4 separate regions of the Homo sapiens genome follow, and regions 1, 2 and 3 are each linked to region 4. The links are contacts of gene promoters, found by promoter capture Hi-C in blood cells and fetal thymus (Javierre and others, 2016). All regions are on one chromosome and are shown on one strand. Each heading gives the region's core, a stretch centred on a gene start or on the middle of the fragment in contact. The rest is flanking DNA. Distances are from core to core; before and after follow the strand shown.

What was found. Contacts are between HindIII fragments. The CHiCAGO score rates a contact against its expected background, and 5 or more counts as called.
Region 1: a contact is called between a fragment that was not itself captured here and the fragment with the promoter of MED4 in region 4, in 1 of 17 cell types (megakaryocytes). The highest score is 5.5, in megakaryocytes.
Region 2: a fragment that was not itself captured here is called in contact with the fragment with the promoter of MED4 in region 4 in 1 of 17 cell types (megakaryocytes); the score reaches 5.7 in megakaryocytes.
Region 3: a fragment that was not itself captured here is called in contact with the fragment with the promoter of MED4 in region 4 in 1 of 17 cell types (megakaryocytes); the score reaches 5.6 in megakaryocytes.

The regions. Positions count from the first base shown.
Region 1 is chr13:46,807,292-46,811,993 of GRCh38, reverse strand. No RefSeq gene overlaps it. Among named protein-coding and RNA genes, the nearest start is that of ESD, 12 kb to the right of the region's middle. The HindIII fragment of the contact is 189 bases long and covers 2,666-2,854 here.
Region 2 is chr13:46,763,064-46,767,848 of GRCh38, reverse strand. No RefSeq gene overlaps it. Among named protein-coding and RNA genes, the nearest start is that of ESD, 32 kb to the left of the region's middle. The HindIII fragment of the contact is 1,084 bases long and covers 992-2,075 here.
Region 3 is chr13:46,824,635-46,829,043 of GRCh38, reverse strand. No RefSeq gene overlaps it. Among named protein-coding and RNA genes, the nearest start is that of HTR2A-AS1, 25 kb to the left of the region's middle. The HindIII fragment of the contact is 600 bases long and covers 2,118-2,717 here.
Region 4 is chr13:48,093,510-48,097,986 of GRCh38, reverse strand. MED4 (mediator complex subunit 4) reads left to right here and starts at 2,883. Exons shown (of 7, transcript NM_014166.4): 1 at 2,883-3,033. The coding sequence starts at 2,909. RefSeq lists a silencer at 3,380-3,674. The HindIII fragment of the contact is 8,460 bases long and covers 1,094-4,477 here.

The DNA of each region.
Region 1 (4,702 bases), core at 1,511-4,010, 1.3 Mb after region 4:
GAATTAATGAAAAGAAAATCATTCCCAGACACATCATAGTTAAATGGCTGAAGACTCAAAAAGAAATAGAAAATCTTGAAAAGCTGCCAGAGGATCAAGGGAAAACACACTGTATACAGGGGACAACATTACAAATAAATAACTAAATTGTCACCTAAAATGATGGTGGCCAGAAGACAATAGAAAAACATTTTTAAAGAGAAAAAAATGGCAACCTAAAATTCTATATCCACCGATGAAAATATTCTTTAAAAGTAAAGACAAAATGAAGGCATTTTTTCAGTAAACAAAAATTGGGAGAATTTGTTATAGGCAGATTTGAACTCTAAGAAAGCTACAAGATCTTCAGACTGAAAGAAATGATACCAGGAGGAAATTCATGTGTATTGGAAGAAATGAAGAATACTGAAAGTGGCAAATATTAAAAGGATGTGTTATGCCACTTCTTCTCTTAATTATTTTATTATGATAAAATATTTGCCTATTTAAAGTAAAAGTTACAATACTACTTCTATAGCACACTTCTATAGTTTTATAATGTTTGTAGATCTAAGAGTCATGATAACAAGAAATAAAATAATGAGGAGTGGGGAAATAGAAATATACAGTTACAAAGTTCTTACATTAAAGTGGTATAATATTAAATCAAAGTAGACTGTGATAAATTAAGAATGCACATTATAATCCCTATAGAACCCACTTAAAAACAGAAACAGGTACAATTAAAAGGCTAATAGAGGAATTCAAGTGGAATTATGAAAAAAAATCAATTAACCCAAATGAAAGCTAGAAAGGAGAAATAAAGTTTAAAAGGTGGGACAAATGGAAAAGAAATAGAAAAAAAGTAGACCCAAATCCAATTACATCAATAGTTAAATTAAATGTAAATGGATTAAACATTCCAATTAACAAACAAAGACATTCCATAATGATAAAGAGCCCAGGAGTTCAAGACCAGCCTGGACAACACGGCAAAAACCCATCTGTCTCTATACAAAATTTAAAAATAGCCAAGCATGGCAGTGCACACCAGTAGTCCCAGCTACTCAGTAGGCTGAGGTGGGAGAATCACCTGAGCCTGGAAAATTGAGGCTACAGTGAGCCGTGATCATGCCATTGCACTCCAGCCTAGGCAACTGGAATAAGACACTGTCACAAAAAAACAAACAAACAAACAAAAACTTCCCTGGAGTAAAAACCAATTAAATATAAAATGCTCTAAGCTCTGAATTTCCTAAGAAATAGGCGATACTACGATATTGGGACTTTAAAGGGAGACAAGTTGTTATGGAAATGTGAACCGTTAAAGACTTTATTAACAGAAAAAAATTATTATGAGTCATCTGATGGAGACATGACCAACAGTGAACTAGACTGATATTTCTCAGAGTACATTCCAGACTACATGAATCTTTCAGAATGTCCAAAGACAAAAAAAGAAACTATAACCCCCTAATGGGAGTTGCATACTGTAAACTAGCACCTTGAAGACTCGGACTCGGTGACATCTTTTGTTCAACCTACCATTCCCACATTTAATCACAGAAACATAAATCTAAATAATATCCTACGGAATTGGAGTTTCTCAATGTCACTCTGAGAAATGTGGGACCAGATTTATAAAGAAAGCCCATTTACTAGCCAAGTTTGATAACAAGATAAAATTTAAAATCAGATATAAATTGTTTTGTGAGCTGTAACTTCACCCAAGTGTATTCCTCAAATATACAAGCCTATGAAACTCCAGAAAATTGGCAGTTTTGCAAGAATTGTCCTTTCTATACCAGTCAGTTCAAATATAATGATAATGTTGCTACTATTCCCTTCCCATTTCCAATAAATTTAAAATAATCTTGGCACTATTTCCCATTTCTTCCATTCCAAATCAGGTTCTGGTTTATAAACATCTCTCCTCTTTTTCTCATGTTACTATCTCTGCTAAGTCATTTTACTCAGTCTTTTAAACTCTGTTCTTTCTTCCCCTTATTGATTTCAATGAAAGCACTGTTAGAGCTGGCTCTTTTTTTTTTTTTTTTTTTTTTGAGACGGTGTCTCGCTCTGTCGCCCAGGCCGGAGTGCAGTGGCGCGAGTTCGGCTCACCGCAAGCTCCGCCTCCCGGGTTCACGCCATTCTCCTGCCTCAGCCTACCGAGTAGCTGGGACGACAGGCGCCCGCCACCGCGCCCGGCTAATTTTTTTGTATTTTTAGTAGATGCGGGGTTTCACCGTGTTAGCCAGGATGGTCTCCATCTCCTGACCTCGTGATCCACCTGCCTCGGCCTCCCAAAGTGCTGGGATTACAGGCGTGAGCCACCGTGCCTGGCCAGATCTGGCTGTTTAACCATGTCTCTTATTCACAGTATAATGCTTCTAGAGGGTTTCTGCAACATTGCTGACTTCCAGGTTATATGGATTACTTTAGTAGGAGGTAGACTGGAAAAAGTCAGAATTTAATAATTATTGAGACATCTTGGCTGTGTCTTCTCAAGTACAACTGAACTAGTGTGGGCTAAAAGCAGCTGACATTCACAAACAGTAATCAGGTTCCATTTTGTGGGACAAATATTGCTTTTTTGCAAGCTTCGTTCTGCTCCAAGAAATTAGGCTTATCTAGTATTTGAGCTGGAGCCAGATCACTTGGGTTCATAGCAATCTAAACTTAAGCTTTATTTCTAGCTGTACCAGTGCCTTGACTAAGGTCATGTATCTCCTTGTGAATCAGTTTATACTCTGTAAAGACAAAATTAACTTTATGCAAAGATATTTGATGATGTTAACTGAGTTAATATATATAAAAAAGATTTGTTTTACTGAGAAATAATAGTATTTTCCCATGCTTTTAGAAAAAGTAAGCTTGGACTGTGGTTCACACCTGTAATCGTAGCACTTTGGGAGGCCAAGGCAGGAGGATCACTTGAATCCAGGAGTTCAAGACCAGCCCTGCCAACACAGCAAGACCCCATCTCTACAAAAAAAAGAAAAAAGAAAAAAAAAAACTAGCCAGGCATGGTGGCAATGCCTGTAGTCCCAGCTACATAAGAGGCTGAGATGGGAGGATCACTTGAGCCCAGGAGGTCAAGGTTGCAGTGAGGTGTGGTTGCACCACTGCACTCCAGCCTAGTTAACAGTGAGACCCTGTCTCAAAAGAAAAGAAAAAAAGAAAAAGTAAGCCCTATGAAAGCAGAGACTTTGATTTGTCTATTTCTGTATTTCCAGTATCTAGAAAAGTACCTTGCGTATGGTAAGCAATCAATGACTACTTGTGGGTGAAAGAATAAATTAATGGATAATAGTATAACTAGAGATCCAGAGATATAACAAACAAATTTACTTTGCCCAGTGACATAAAATAAAGCCATATTCTTGCACCTAATTTTTTATATTTTTAAAATTAATTCCTTGTTGTTTTCATTAGTTGTGACTAGGGGAAAGTATTAATTTGTTCAGTCTAGAATGCTTTGATAACAAAAATAATGTATAGGATCAGTATCTTCATCATGATTATTATTGATGAAGAGTATTATTATTATTGGCGGTATGGAATGGCAGTTAAGCACACAAACTCAGGATTTCAACTGATGGAAGCAAATCCCAGCTCTGCCATTTACTAGCAGACAGTTCTCAAAAGAAGACATTTATGCAGCCAACAAACATGTGAAAAAAAGCTCATCTTCACTGGTCATTAGAGAAATGCGAATCAAACCCACAATGAGATACTATCTCACTCCAGTTAGAATGGAGATCATTAAAAAGTCAGGAAACAACAAATGCTGGAGAGGATGTGGATAAATAGGAACACTTTTACACTGTTGGTGGGAGTGTAAATTAGTTCAACCATTGTGGAAGACAGTGTGGCGATTCCTCAAGGATCTAGAACCAGAAACACCATTTGACCCAGCAATCCCATTACTGGGTATATACCCAAAGGATTATAAATCATTCTACTATAAAGACACATGCACACGTATGTTTATTGCAGCACTGTTCACAATAGCAAAGACTTGGAACCAACCCCAGTGCCCATCAGTGATAGACTGGATAAAGAAAATGTGGCACATATACACCATGGAATACTATGAAGCCATAAAAAGAGATGAGTTCATGTCCTTTGCAGGGACACGGATGAAGCTGGAAACCATCATTCTCAGCTAACTAGCACAGGAACAGAAAACCAAAAACCACATGTTCTCACTCATAAGTGAGAGTTGAACAATGAGAACACATGGACACAGGGAGGGGAACATCACACACCGGTGCCTGTCAGGGGCTGGGGGCTAGGGGAGGGATAGCATTAAGAGAAATACCTAATGTAGATGACGGGTTGATGGGTGCAGCAAACCACCATGACACTTGTATACCTATGTAACAAACCTGCATGTTCTGCCCATGTATTGCAGAACTTAAAATATAATTTAAAAAAAAGAAATAAAAGAAAAAGAAAGCGGGTCTTGCTATGTTGCCCAAGATAGACTCCATCCTCCCGTGTCAGCCTTCAGAGTAGCTAGGACTATAGAAGTGCACCACTATCCCCAGCTATTGAGAAAGTATTTTTGAGTTTAGTGAGTGAAAGTCAGAACTGATTTTACATAGTTCATAAAATATTTGTAGAAGGGATACAAAATTAAATCAGTAGCAAAATAAATGTATATGTAACTATGAAATGTAAATTCTATTTACCCATGATATTTGGAAATTGGAGCAGC
Region 2 (4,785 bases), core at 284-2,783, 1.3 Mb after region 4:
GCAAAAAGTGGCTGTAGGCCAGGCGTGGTGGCTCACATCTGTTATCCCAGCACTTTGGCAGGCCGAGGTGGGTGGACCACTTGAGGTCAGGAGTTTGAGACCAGCCTGGCCAACATGGCAAAACCCCATCTCTACTAAAAATGCAAAAATTAGCCAGGTGTGGTGGCAGGTGCCTTTAATCCCAGCTACTCAGGAGACTGAGGCAGGAGAATCGTTGGAACCTGGGAGGCAGAGGTTGCAGTGAGCTGAGATTGCACCACCGCACTCCAGCAACGGACTGAGACTCTATCTGCCCCCTCCCCCAGAAAAAAATGGCTGTAGTGATGTTACTGATATTGACGATGCAAATGAGTTTAGATAAAACCATGTCATAAAATCTTACAACAGAATATTTAATATTTCCAAGCTGACATATCTCAAGTATTTTTAAAGTATACATATAAAATCTGTGACAAGTAGGCATGAATTATATATTTAAAAATGTATAAATGTATTCGAATTAGCCAAAGTTTTGGATGTTATCATTAGAAAAATGCAGATCCAGGCCAGGCGCAGTGGCTCACACCTGTAATCCCAGCACTTTGGGAGGCTGAGGCAGGTGGATCACAAGGTCAGGAGTTTGAGACCAGCCTGGCCAACGTGGTGAAACCCCATCTCTACTAAAAATACAAAAATTAGCCTGGCATCATGGCGTGCACCTGTTATCCCAACCACTCAGGAGGCTGAGGCAGAAGAATCGCTTGAACCCGGGAGGCAGAGGTTGCAGTGAGCCAAGATCGTGCCACTGCACTCCAGCCTAGGTGACAGAGCGAGACTCCATCTCAAAAAATAAAAAAAAAGAAAAAGAAAAATGCAGATCCTCTCATGTTCAAGGTTGTCTTGTATTTAGGCACACTGGGTATATACAGTATGTAACAGATTACATTGTTTTATCGACCTTCTGCAATGAAAGCCACTTTAAAATTAAAACAGCCAGATTTTTTTTTAAGCTTTCATTTTTGAAGCCTAGCCTCCAAGTAATCTGAAGAATTGGGGTTTCGGATGAAGAAAGGAAATGTCACTGTTGGTGTTCCAGTGATGGGGATGGCAACAGCAGTAGCTAAGAAGACATTGGCAGAGGTTGCCGGGGGGGTGGTGGGGGGAAGTAAAGATGCAGCGATGGCCACAGCAGCACAGGGGACCATGACAAAAGAGGCATCCACTACAGTCGAAATGGAGGACAAAGTGTTAGAACCAGTAAGAGTTTCGTAAAGTGGCTAGAAACAATATAACTGTCTCAAAATTAGTGATTTTTCTATAAGTCTATGTTTAATAAAAATTATTTTAAAATGATCCTATTCACAGCAGCAACAAAAAACTACCTAGAAAGAACTCAAACCAGAATTGTATAATACCTCTAGCAAATAAAGTAAGTCTTAAATGGAAAGCAATATCATATTCATGGAATAAAACTCTCAATATTGTAAAGCTACAAACATACCCCAGATTAATCTACAAATGCAATATAATCTTAATCAAAATCTCAAAGTTGTTCATGGAGCTTGACAAGCTAATTATAAAATTTATATGGAAGAATATGCCAAGACGGCTTGAGAGAGAACAAATTGCTCTGCCAGTTGTCAAGACATTATAAAGCTGTGATAATTAAAACGGGTTTGGACTCAGAAGAGTTCATCCCATCAGAAAAGTCCTGCCACAGACCCACACAGAAATTTAGCGTATGTTAATAGCAATGTCTCAAATCAGTGAGGAAAACATGAGCCTTTCTGTAAATGGTGCTGCCAAATTATTTTTCAGTAGCTTTGTGGAGAAAGATATACAAAAGGAGGCCTGTGTAAAGGCATGCATTGCAGCCTTGTTTGTAATAAATACGAAAACAACCCCAAATATTTAAGAATCAAAGTAAGTTGGTGAAAAATTTGACACTGTTTACATTTTCACAAGCCATCAAAACAATATGTATTTTGCTATAGGTACAAATATATTTCATGGGAAAAGTTCTGAATGGAAATAATGAGTTACTTCTGGGAAAGAGGAGGAGGGCACCAGAGTTGAAAATAACAGCCAGAAAAGCTTTATTTTTGGTGGATTATATCATTTTTACAGAAAAAGTTATTCATGTATATTTTCAGTTGTAAAATACTAATTTTAAACACTAATAAATGTTGAAAATCAGAAAGAACAGTGCTTACACTCATCTGTGCCAAGGTCCAGAAACACATTTTCATGCTTCTTACTTTGTATTTCTGAGAACTTAAGTTCTGGTTCAAAAACACATTGGAATTAAAAAAAAAAAATAGAATTAACATAGCTGACTGTGTGAATAATGAGACTTTCAGGAGAAGAAACCCTTGTAAGGTCCTGCCTCCCAAAGGTACTTCAGGCCAGTCATTGCATCTTTCAAAGGCCAATTCCTCACTGGAAAGCAGAGTAAATAAACAAAAACCCCTACACTAACTCCCAGGGCTGTGTAGCAAGACAAGATACCCACATGAAATCTCTGTCATCTTATCCAGATGTTAGTGACTAGATGCATTAGGGCCATTGAACTTCAAAGTGACCCGTGCCGTCCTTCAGGGGTGCACAAGACCATCCAATGGACAGGATTAGAGCTTCTGTCTATATTTATTTTTATTTCATCATCTCCTGTTAAAATTTCTATTTTTGTGCATGCCTTATAATATACATAGCATATTGGTATGCTAATGTATACAATTATAAATTAAAAGTCATATAGTATGGGTGTGTGTGGCAAATGTGCCTCCCAAATTTCTTTTTAAGCTTACTTTTTAAACCACAACTTTTTAAGTGAGAGGAGACAACATTGTGAGCACCAACACACAGATTATCTATTGCGCTATTAGTTTCTACTCTGCCAGTACAAAGAATGGTTGGCTATAGAAATAAAATATTTTCCTCGAAGAGAGAACATAGTTTGTAAATTTCTCATCCTTTCATAGCCCTGCTAGTCCAAGAGAAAATGTCTTTTGCTTATCAGATATATATTTTTTTATTTGTTGTTGTATTTGGCCCAACTCTGGGATTCCAATCCATGACCAGTGAATTTTCGATTTCATTTGTGTCTCTTTGGCACCAGGTGGCAGCTTCTGTCTCTAACGACACTTAATGAGCTTCACTTTCTGGTGATAGTACATAAAGAAAATAGAGTTCTAGCACTTTCTTTGTTGGATGATAATAGTATACTCAACCAAATAAAGTAACATTTTCATCTTATTGGGCTTATTAGAAAAATTCAAATACCCCTAAAAATGAGGCATGGAGCTGGGAAGTGGGTGAGGCAAGGGACTTTTTTTTTTCCAATTTATCCTAGATATTATTTTGGGCATTCTGGTTTTGGGGTGTATTATTTTGTGTGTGTGTGTGTGTGTGTGTGTGTGTGTGTGTGTGTGTGTGTGTGTGTGTGCATTTAAACCCTGCATTTAGAGTTGTAATATTGACCCCAGGCTGTTCACGTGGTTGATTGAAGGCAGATTGCCTTATTAGTCATTGCTGGTTCAATGGGATTAATATTCCTTAAAGAGGAAAGCCTTTTCCTTTTGGGTCTCTTCTGAAAACATTTGAGTAAAAACACTGCCACCCAGTGTTTCTTTTAGGAGAAGCACAATAAATATACCGTGCACTCTTAAAAAGTTTTCTAGGATGAATAGCAAATCACCCATTTTCTTAGTTATATTCAAATAAGACCTGACAGACGACAGAACATGCCCTGCTTTAAATGTAAAATAGGCCGGGCTCAGTGGCTCACAACTGCAATCCCAGCACTTTGGGAGGCTAAGGTAGGAGGGTTGCTTAAACAGGAGTTTGAGACCAGCCTGGGTAACCATGAGACACTGTCTCTACAAAAAATAGAAGAAAAAAAAAATTAGCTGGGTATGGTCGTGTGTGCCTATAGTCCCAGCTGCCTAGGAGGTTGAGGTGGGAGGATTGCTTGAGCCCAGGAGATCAAGGCTGCAGTGAGCCATGACTGCACAACTGCACTCCAGCCTGGGTAACAAAAAAAGACCCTGTCTCAAAAATAAAAATAAAATATTCCAGCCCATATCATGCTACGTAATGCAGAGAGGCTATCCCAGATGTTGGAATGATTGTTTGATTTTCAAGCATGAATTCTAAGACGATCCTGCAAATATTCCAGCCTTACGTAATCATTCTGACCTGGATCATGGCAAAAAGACCAGGCTAAGGGCTTTGTCACCATTCGAATCCTCCCTCAACCTTTCTGCTGCAGTCACAGTTGTTTTCATCCAGCCCTCAAGAAGTGCTCTCCAGGCCGGGTGTGGTGGTTCACACCTGTAATCCCAGCACTTTGGGAGGCCAAGGCAGGTGGATCACTTGAGGTCAGGAGTTTGACACCAGCCTGGCCAACATGGTGAAACCGTCTCCACTGAAAATACAAAAATTAGCTGGGTGTGGTGGTGCACGGCTGTAATCCCAGCTACTGGGGAGGCTGAGGCAGGAGAATCACTTGAACCCGGGAGGCAGAGGTTGCAGTGAGCTGAGATCGTACCAGCCTGAGTAACAGAGCAAGACTCCAACTCAAAAAAAAAAAAAAAAAGTTCCTGTCCAGTACAGTTCAAGGCAGCCTTAGGTAGCAGCTCCCTTTTGCAGGGCCCACATCTGGAGAAACCTGTGTCCTCCCGCCTGGTCTCTTTGCCCTGCCACCCCACAGGCTGTGCATTTGCCCACCTCTTCTCTTCTGCCCTCCTCGTTCCCAGGGGAGGGGAAGGTGGGCAAATGCACAGCATTCCAACATCTTTCTCTGAA
Region 3 (4,409 bases), core at 1,168-3,667, 1.3 Mb after region 4:
TCATAGCTACTACAATATTTTGGATTGGCCTTTTTAATAACCCTCAGGCTTCCTGAAGAACAAGTGCTCCTACTATTTGAGTTCAATTTCCCTGAAGGGTTAAAATTAAAAAGCCCAGATAGATTTAGAATTCATGGCGCAGAGAAGATCTCTTTTTTAAAAGCTAGATTTACATTGACAGTATGCCAAGGTCACTTAAGTTTTCATTTATAATTGAGATTATGAGACCTTAAAAAAGTATTTATTCTGTCTTCTAGAAAAACAGCACAATTTGTACTTCCTGTCCTACACTTATTTCAGATATTGAAAAGTAATATGCCATTATTCAGATAATCTTGTCTTAGTTAGGGTGACCCTAAGAGCAGAGTTAAGACTCAGGTGCAGGTTATTTATGCAGGAGATGCTCTGAGGGAGCCAACAGCATTAGAGAGGGAAGAAGTAAAAGTTTATTTAACTGTGTGTTCAGTGTGTGACATAAGCAAAAACTATACTCAAATTGGGTTGAGCAACTAGTGCTGCAAACTCATTTATTCTCTTAATAGGTTTGCTAGTGAGGGTCTGCTATGTGTATGTTTTATGTAAGACCACTAAGTGTGGGAAGTCTAGGGATGGAATTACTCTTTTAAAAAACTTGAATAAGATACTGGGTGGGGAGATTATTCTACCTCTTTACAAAATGTTTGTTTATTTCATTGAGCCTACCAACTTTGTCACAAATTAGCCTAAGTAATATAGGATAACTTAACACGCCTACCCAGAGATGCCATGCTGCATATGATAAGATATCCCTCAAGGCATTGCCACCACCCGATGCTGATGTTTCAGCCACTTTAGACACTGGTGAAAAGCAAAGTTGTGTGGGCCAATGGCAAAAGTGTTAAGAATATAGAATTTTAAAATTAGTTTTATGAGGAAAAAATGAAAATTAGATAGAATGTTCAATATCACTATCTCCAGGCTCCATTGTTAAAGTTCTGCATTCTAAGACCTAGGATCACAATGGGGTGTATAAAGAAGAATATCTAAAAGATGGGAATTAGTCAACATAGATAAGCAATCCAAGAAGAATTTTTAAGAAGACGAAAAAGGAAATGAAAAAAATAAACAATAGTAAATATAAAAACAAATGTGTTCAGCATGTACACATGTAATGATGTATCTCTCTGATACTCTGAAAAGGGGATACATTTATTAGTCTTTAATTTCTAGAGACAAGATGGTGGGGTTTTTTCCAAATTAGCAGAAAAATAGGAAATGTTATTCACAAGTGATTACAAGTATGACAAAATTAAAACAACTAAACATTTCCAAGACTGAAGAACAAGAAGATTGATTTGCATGAAAATGTAACACTACATTTATTCCTCTAATATAATCACCAGAGAACTTGACTATGATTAATTATTCCTACACTTCTCTAAAATAGAATGTGGAAGCTATGACACACTTTTTGTCCAGCTCCTCTCCACCAGATAGACCTAAGTCTGAAAACCTATTGGAACCACTCATAAAGAAAAAAAATCTTCTCTAACTTAGAATTATTATCACTGTCATGATGCAAATATCAACTTACTTCAATCTATATGAAGCATAATAAATAAAATATTGAAACTATTAGTACATTTATATAACATTCTGCTTTGAGAAATTTGCTTTAATAACTTTGAAAGACAAAATAACTATTTCTGCCTTAAATGAGCATATTTTTTATTTGACTTAAATACCAGCTTCTTTTGCTAATAGCTTTGAGTGGTCCTACTTGGTTCTAAGAATTTGAGCAAAGTACAGCTAGCCACTTGTAGTAGGCAATAATGTATATATAAAGCATAAACCAGCAATGTTTTCACATTTTTTGAAACAGCGAGATTAAATCCAGAAACATCCAACCTATTTCTCTTACTACAACAAGGAAACCAGAAGGAATGTCAAAGGAAGACACTGAAGTTGATACTTATTGAGCAACAATTTTGTGCTAATTTCACACATTTAATCACAATAATGTGTCTATGTCTCATAGTAACCATAGAGGAAACTGAGTCTCAAAGGTAAATTTGACCAATTCCACCAAGCTAAGGAGAAGAATCGGAACTCAAGCATGACTATATAAATGATAAGCTTTTACTGTTTCTAATTTCCACTGTGCTAAAGATCAGAAAATATTTTCTATAAGGAGCCAAATAGTACATGTTTTAGGTTCTGTTGTGGTGTGAAAACAGCCATAGACAATAAGCAAATGAGTGAATGTGACTATGTTCCAATAAAACTTTATTTACAAAAACAAACTCTGGGTCAGATTTGAGCCTGGACTATATAGTTAGCTAATCCCTGGACACTACCATCCAACAACAGCAACAATAATTACCACAAACACAACAACCACAACAACATATACTACTACACTACTACTACCATCACATCTATTTATTTGAGCCCTTAGTAAATGTCAAGTATTATGTTAGATATTTTAATATATCCTTACAATACCAGCACTATACAGTGGATATTATCATCATCTCCATGTTCTATATAAGGAAACTAGAGATTAACCTATCCAAGCTCACACATAGTAAGTAATAGAGCTGGGTTTTGAATCAACATCTCTATTCTCAGCCACTTGCTCTATTTCCTCCCTAACCCAAAAGAATGAAAGCATATCTCTATCATGCTTGCATTATACCTGTGACTGTCTTGCCTTAGTTAGAATGAAGAGTGAAGCTTAGCAGAGCTCTAGCTTTGGGAAGGAAATAGTTCCTTCTAAAGCCTTCAACTTACAATGCAGGGTAAATTAGACTTTGCTGAATAAACACAATTTCAACCCATAAGTATAAGTGTTGATAAGTGGTGATCAGCAACATGGTTAATTCTCTAAAGGAAATTCTTGATTTGGTAAGATAGAATCATAACATATTGATTGCTGTCTTTTCTCTTAGCTCACCTTCATGCACAGAGAATGTATGTAACATTAACTTCCTCCTAAATGTAAGGAAGAATGCATAAACTCTATGTCCTTTATATTTGTAGAAGTATGTTCAAAAATAAATTTCTTACATGCCCTTTCTACTTCCTATGCTAATCAATAAAATAATAAATATTGACTGGAAAAATTACTATTTAAAATAAATGTTATAGATATTAATACAAATCAGGGAGATTGAAAAATCTCCAAGTTTCTTCGGAGAACATGGATCTTATTGTCAGAATACACACAGAAATGAGAAAACAGGAATCATTGTTTTGAATCGATGTCAAATAGGCCTCACAGAAGCTCAGAGACACATAACCCACCCCAGACCAAATCAAAGGCTACCGGAGGGATGCAGGCACAAGTTCCTCCATTTTCATCAAAGGCCTGAATCATCCATAGGACCCAGCTACTCTCTCTCAACCTGTTTCACTCTGGGTCTCTTTCACTCATCTTCCCTCTACCAGCTGGTTTCCATTTGGTTTCTTCTTACATATAGCATGTGCTCACTTACAGTCCACCATGACCTCTCTACCTCATGGACTTTCATCTTCTACAGCTGCCACTAATTATATGAACTTCTCTATACTGACTTGTGTAGATTTCTAAGAGAGAGCTGGTTAGGTTGGTCCATGTTCTCCCTACATGGGCAGAGACTTTGTTCTAAGCTCCCCTTATAGTCTACTGACCAGATATGGCCAGATGCCTTTCCCAATCCAATCAGCTGTGGTGGGCTATGCAGAATATTCCCCCAGCTGAATCTCTTGACAGAAGAAGAGTTTTCACACAGAGGGCTAGAGTGTATCCATCACTGGGTCTGAATGCTAATCATACCTTATCTGAAAAGAGAGAAAATCTATTGACTTACTCTTCTGGCAAGGGTAGCCACCTCTTTTAACCAGCACTCCCTTTTCCTACTTTACATTTTTTCCTTCTAATACAGTTATTTCCAATTTCCTATCCACAGGTTGACACTTTAAAGAATATAACCAGAAGTGAGTCAGCCAATTTTCTTTTATAGGGTTATCGGCAAAATAGTTGTTGCAAAACACACACACACACACACACACACATACACACACACATGTAGAAGCTTGAATCTGAAACCCTGGGAAAACAATGGATGGGAGGTGAACCAATCTCAATGATGCTTTTCCAGGGCTTGCCCTGGGAATTGTGATTTGATGACCTCAACAAGCAATCACAGTGCACCATGATTAAAACAGCCACATTATAATCTAATGAAAATTTAACAATTTAGAAAAATCTGCCAAGCCCCAGTGGAGGAGAAAATCATTTAGTAGCTGAAACATTTGTATCACTGGGGCAACAGAGTCCTACAACTCTCGGATCCACCAATGTTATAATTCATAACCATGAGAAGAAAAACATAGGATGACTCCTGTACCTGCAGCCCCCTGGAGGGTGGCCAGATTATGCCCGAGAA
Region 4 (4,477 bases), core at 1,634-4,133:
GGTTGCAGTGAGCTGTGGTTGCACCACTGCCCTCCAGCCTGAGTGACAGAGAGTGAGACCCTGTGGCAAAAAAAAAAAGAAAAGAAAAAAGTAAAAAAGACAGCATTGACACGGTTAAATTCCAAGGGCCCTCATTTATTTAGGGATGAACTAAATGGCTGGTATCGTCATTTACAAAAGTGTCTTGAACTAGATGGAGCTTATGTTGAGAAATAAAGTTTATATTTTAAATTATTATCTTTTAATTCCATTTTTCCATGAACTTTTTGAAGTCCTCTCATATTTTAGGTCAGAGGTTCCCAGTCCTTTTAGTACCTGAATATCCTTCTTTCTTTACAGAGAGCTGGGATAACCAGTGGTAAAGAGCACAGACCCTGGAGCCAGACTCTGGGTTCAGATTCCAGCTTTGCCATTTACTATATGACCCCGGCATGTGTCTTAACATTTCTGCCCCTCAGTTTCATTATCTGTAACATAGGGATAGTAACAGTACTTACCTCATAGGAGTGTTAGGAAAATTAAACAAGTTAATATTTTTGAAGTGCTTAGAACACTGCCCACCATGTCAATAAAATTTCATGAGAAAGTAGTGTCCTTTTTGAATCTACAGATTGAGAAAATATGTACCTAACTCCAAATTACCATGAATTCAGTAATACTATATAAAATAATTCATATTTGTTTATCACGCCTGGATTTGTACAATTTGCAAGACAGTATATCTGTGAAAGATGCTATTACTTATCAGTCTATAGAAACTGTTTAATATGCATATGAATTTGCAATAAATCTGAGGAGGTCAGGAGTTCACAATACACATACATGCTCCACACACTGATCCTCAGTGTCTGCAAAGTAGGACTATAATTGGTCATTTTTAACTAATTAGAATCCTTCTAGAATTTTTATGTTTACACTAATATAATGTTCTCTCTCCTCCTACCAGAGTCATGGCTCAATATGACCCGTGAGAGTTGAGTAAACAAAACCAACACATACCGCAGAAGTTTGGCACCCTGGAAACTTAACATAAGAAATGATTGACTAGAGTACTGAGAGGCATGTTTAGAATGCAAGTGTAATGAACAAAGCTTCAATCTACTTTAGCCCATTGCCTGAGAATTGACTGCATTAACAAAAAAGGGTTAGCCAACAGCAGATGCAGGGAACGGTCAGAAAACAAAAGGTGACAAGGATCTCTTGCACTGTCTAGAGGAAAAGGTACCCTGACCTATGAACACAAATAATCCAATCTCTTGAACACAAATATCCCTACACTGTGGAGACACAAAGCCTCATGATTGTGTCATTAATTTTTAATCTATCCTTGTTTGTTCTGATCCAAGTTTAACAAGCAACATCCTGTGATAATATGGCTTCTCATATAGTTTTGTCTATGGGAAAAAGATATGTTTGGCACTATTACTTTTCATCGTAAGTGAGTAAATCAGCATTCTAGATTACGCAGCAGTTGCTATGAGTGAATTTATTTAACATGAATTTCTAAAAGACTTGTCAACTCTGGGTGCCCAGGAGTCAGGTTTAGCACCTCCAAAAAGACAGAGTAGAGGATGAGACCCTGAAATGAAAGGACTACAGGTACTACTACCTCATGGGAGTGAGGCAGTCCCAGACCATCTTTTATAATAGCAATATGGAATCCTCATTCCCAATAGGCTTGTAACTTTGCTTTTTTCTGGTAGAGAGTGATCCCTACTACATTGTTATCCCTAGGAAAAGTAGGCTAAGACGTATTTTTGCCTTTGACAACCAGTTCTGGTTTGGAATGTGTGGTACATCAATGACTTAAACTATGTTAATTAACTACTACTTATGTACTGTATTGGTTCCTTCAGTTCAATAATTAACCTGAGTAATGAGCAAAACATTTTGTTGGAAGATGTATGGCTATAAAGATGGATTATAGCAATGTGGAAGTAACCTAACTGTCCATCGTCAGATGAATGGATGAACAAAAGGTGCCATATGCATACAATGGAATATTAGTCTTAAAAAGGAAAGATATTCCAGCACATGCTACATCATGGATGAACCTGGAGGACATAATGCTGAGTGACATAAGCCAGACACAAAAAGACAAATACTGTATGATTCTGCTTATATGAGGTACCTAGAGTAGCCAAACTTACAGCAATGGAAAGTAGAATGGTGGTTGCCAGGGCCTGGAGAAGGGAGGGATAAGGAGTTAGCATTTAGTGAGTACAGAGTTTGTTTTACAAGATAAAAGGTTTTGGAGATGGATAGTTGCTCAACAGTATGAATGTATTTAATGCCACTGAACTATCCACTTAAAAATGGTTAAGGTGGGCCGGGTGCGGTGGCTCACGCCTGTAATTCCACCACTTTGGGAGGCTGAGGCAGGCGGATCACGAGGTCAGGAGATTGAGACCATCCTGGCTAACAAGGTGAAACCCCGTCTCTACTAAAAATACAAAAAATTAGCCGGGCGTGGTGGCGGTCGCCTGTAGTCCCAGCTACTCGGGAGGCTGAGGCAGGAAAAATGGCGTGAACCCAGGAGGCGGAACTTGCAGTGAGCCAAGACATCCGCGGCGATGCACTCCAGTCTGGGCAACAGAGCGAGACTCGTCTCAAAAAAAAAAAAAGAAAGAAAGAAAGAAAAAAAACCATTAGGCCCAGGAGAATCAGACTGCGTTGCCCCCACTGTTCTCAGTTCAGCTGTCGCTCCCAGGGTTTGGACCAGAAAGCCCTCGCCGGCCCAACAGATGGCGCCGGTGTCCGCAGTGCGCCTCCAGGCCCAAAGGGGGCGCTCTCGCCAGGCCTCTTTTTCCTCTCCTGGGTGACTCTTCCGCCTTCCGAGCCCGCCTTCTCGCCACGCACCTGCGTCAGCTCGCTCTGCGCGTGCGCCGGTGGCGGGACTCTGGGGAAAATGGCTGCGTCTTCGAGTGGTGAGAAGGAGAAGGAGCGGCTGGGAGGCGGTTTGGGAGTGGCGGGTGGTAACAGCACACGAGAGCGGCTGCTGTCTGCGCTTGAGGACTTGGAGGTCCTGTCTAGGTAATGCGGCGAGCCTGAGAGCCGGGCTGGAGCTGGGCCGGGGGACTGACCCCGGAGCCGGCCGGCCCTGCGTTTGTGCTCGTTCTCGGGGTTCGGCGGGGAGGGCCAGCTCGGGAGTTTCGGGTGCATGAGGGTCATGGACGTGGGGTCCGCAGCCCTCTGGCACTCTGGGCGGCGGTTTTTCCCGTTAGAGGGAATTTTAGTAATGATAAGAACTCGCGCGGTCTGAGCCTCTTCGTCCGCGGCCAGCCACTTAACATTTATGGAACGCTCCTTGGGGGCTCAGCATTGGGGAGACGGTAGTGAAGGGTAGACTGGATGCCAGCTGTCGAGAGAGAGACAGATGTGTAAACTGGCTTGGGGCCTGTTTTTATTAGAGGGCTGCGCTGCGGGGTACTGGAGCACAGGGACTAGGCACCTTTTTTGGTTGTAGTCAGGGCAGGCCCTCTGAAGAAAGTGCTGCTTGGGAAGCATGAGCTCGCCAAACTCACTAGGCAGCACAGATAGATGGAACAGCAAGTGCAAAAAGCCTGGCTTGGTGGAGTTGCAAGTTGTTTAGGATGGTTGTGTGTCAGAGATAGGAGATGAAATTAGATGTCGTTCTTCATATTCTGTCACCTTTCATGATAAGTCTTTCAAGTTGAAGCCTTCCTTGACTCCCTCCCATTGACTTGGATGGTAAATTATCTTGGTTCTACCTCCTAAAGTGTCGCTCCAATTTGCCCTCTCGTTCCAACCCCGCTGTTCATAACTCCTTCTTAAATGTAGCCTCCCAAACAGTTTTAATTGCCTCATGCTTCTGCACTTTATCCTTTTATATTGGCCGATACCAGTTTTAAAAGGCATCTTATATCACTTTTCTGCAGAAAAATTATATAAAAGCTACCTCATTGGTAGGTTTGCGTTGTCCAGTGAGGTAAAGTTCAAATTCTTTAGTCAGACTTCCACATCTTCAGTGCCATTCCCAGTCTACTCCCGATTTGGTGAATGATTCATATATCCTTCAGAATCCAGCTCAAATGTCACTTTTTCTATAGCCAACATTCTTTGACAGCTTTAGAATAAATCTTACCTGTTGTATTTTAAAATATACGTGATATAATCAGCACTTTATTTTTGGTGTAAATTTAGTCCTTGCCATCGTATTGCTACCAAGTTACCAGGTCAGCACAATATTTAATGATGGAAGAAAACCCGAAAACACCTAGACAGCAGAAATTAAATGGCTTATGTGTTTGATCCACTGTTTAAAATAAACTGTATTAGGGCCGGGTGTGGTGGCTCACGCCTATAATCCGAGCACTTTGGGAGGCCAAGGCGGGCGGATCATTGGAACTTCTTCACAGAATGAAGCTGCTCTGGTGGTGTGACTGGCTTCCAGAAAGGTCTCATGTGTTCACTCAGAGGTAGTTATGTGTACTGATTCTGTGATCTGTGAAGTTTG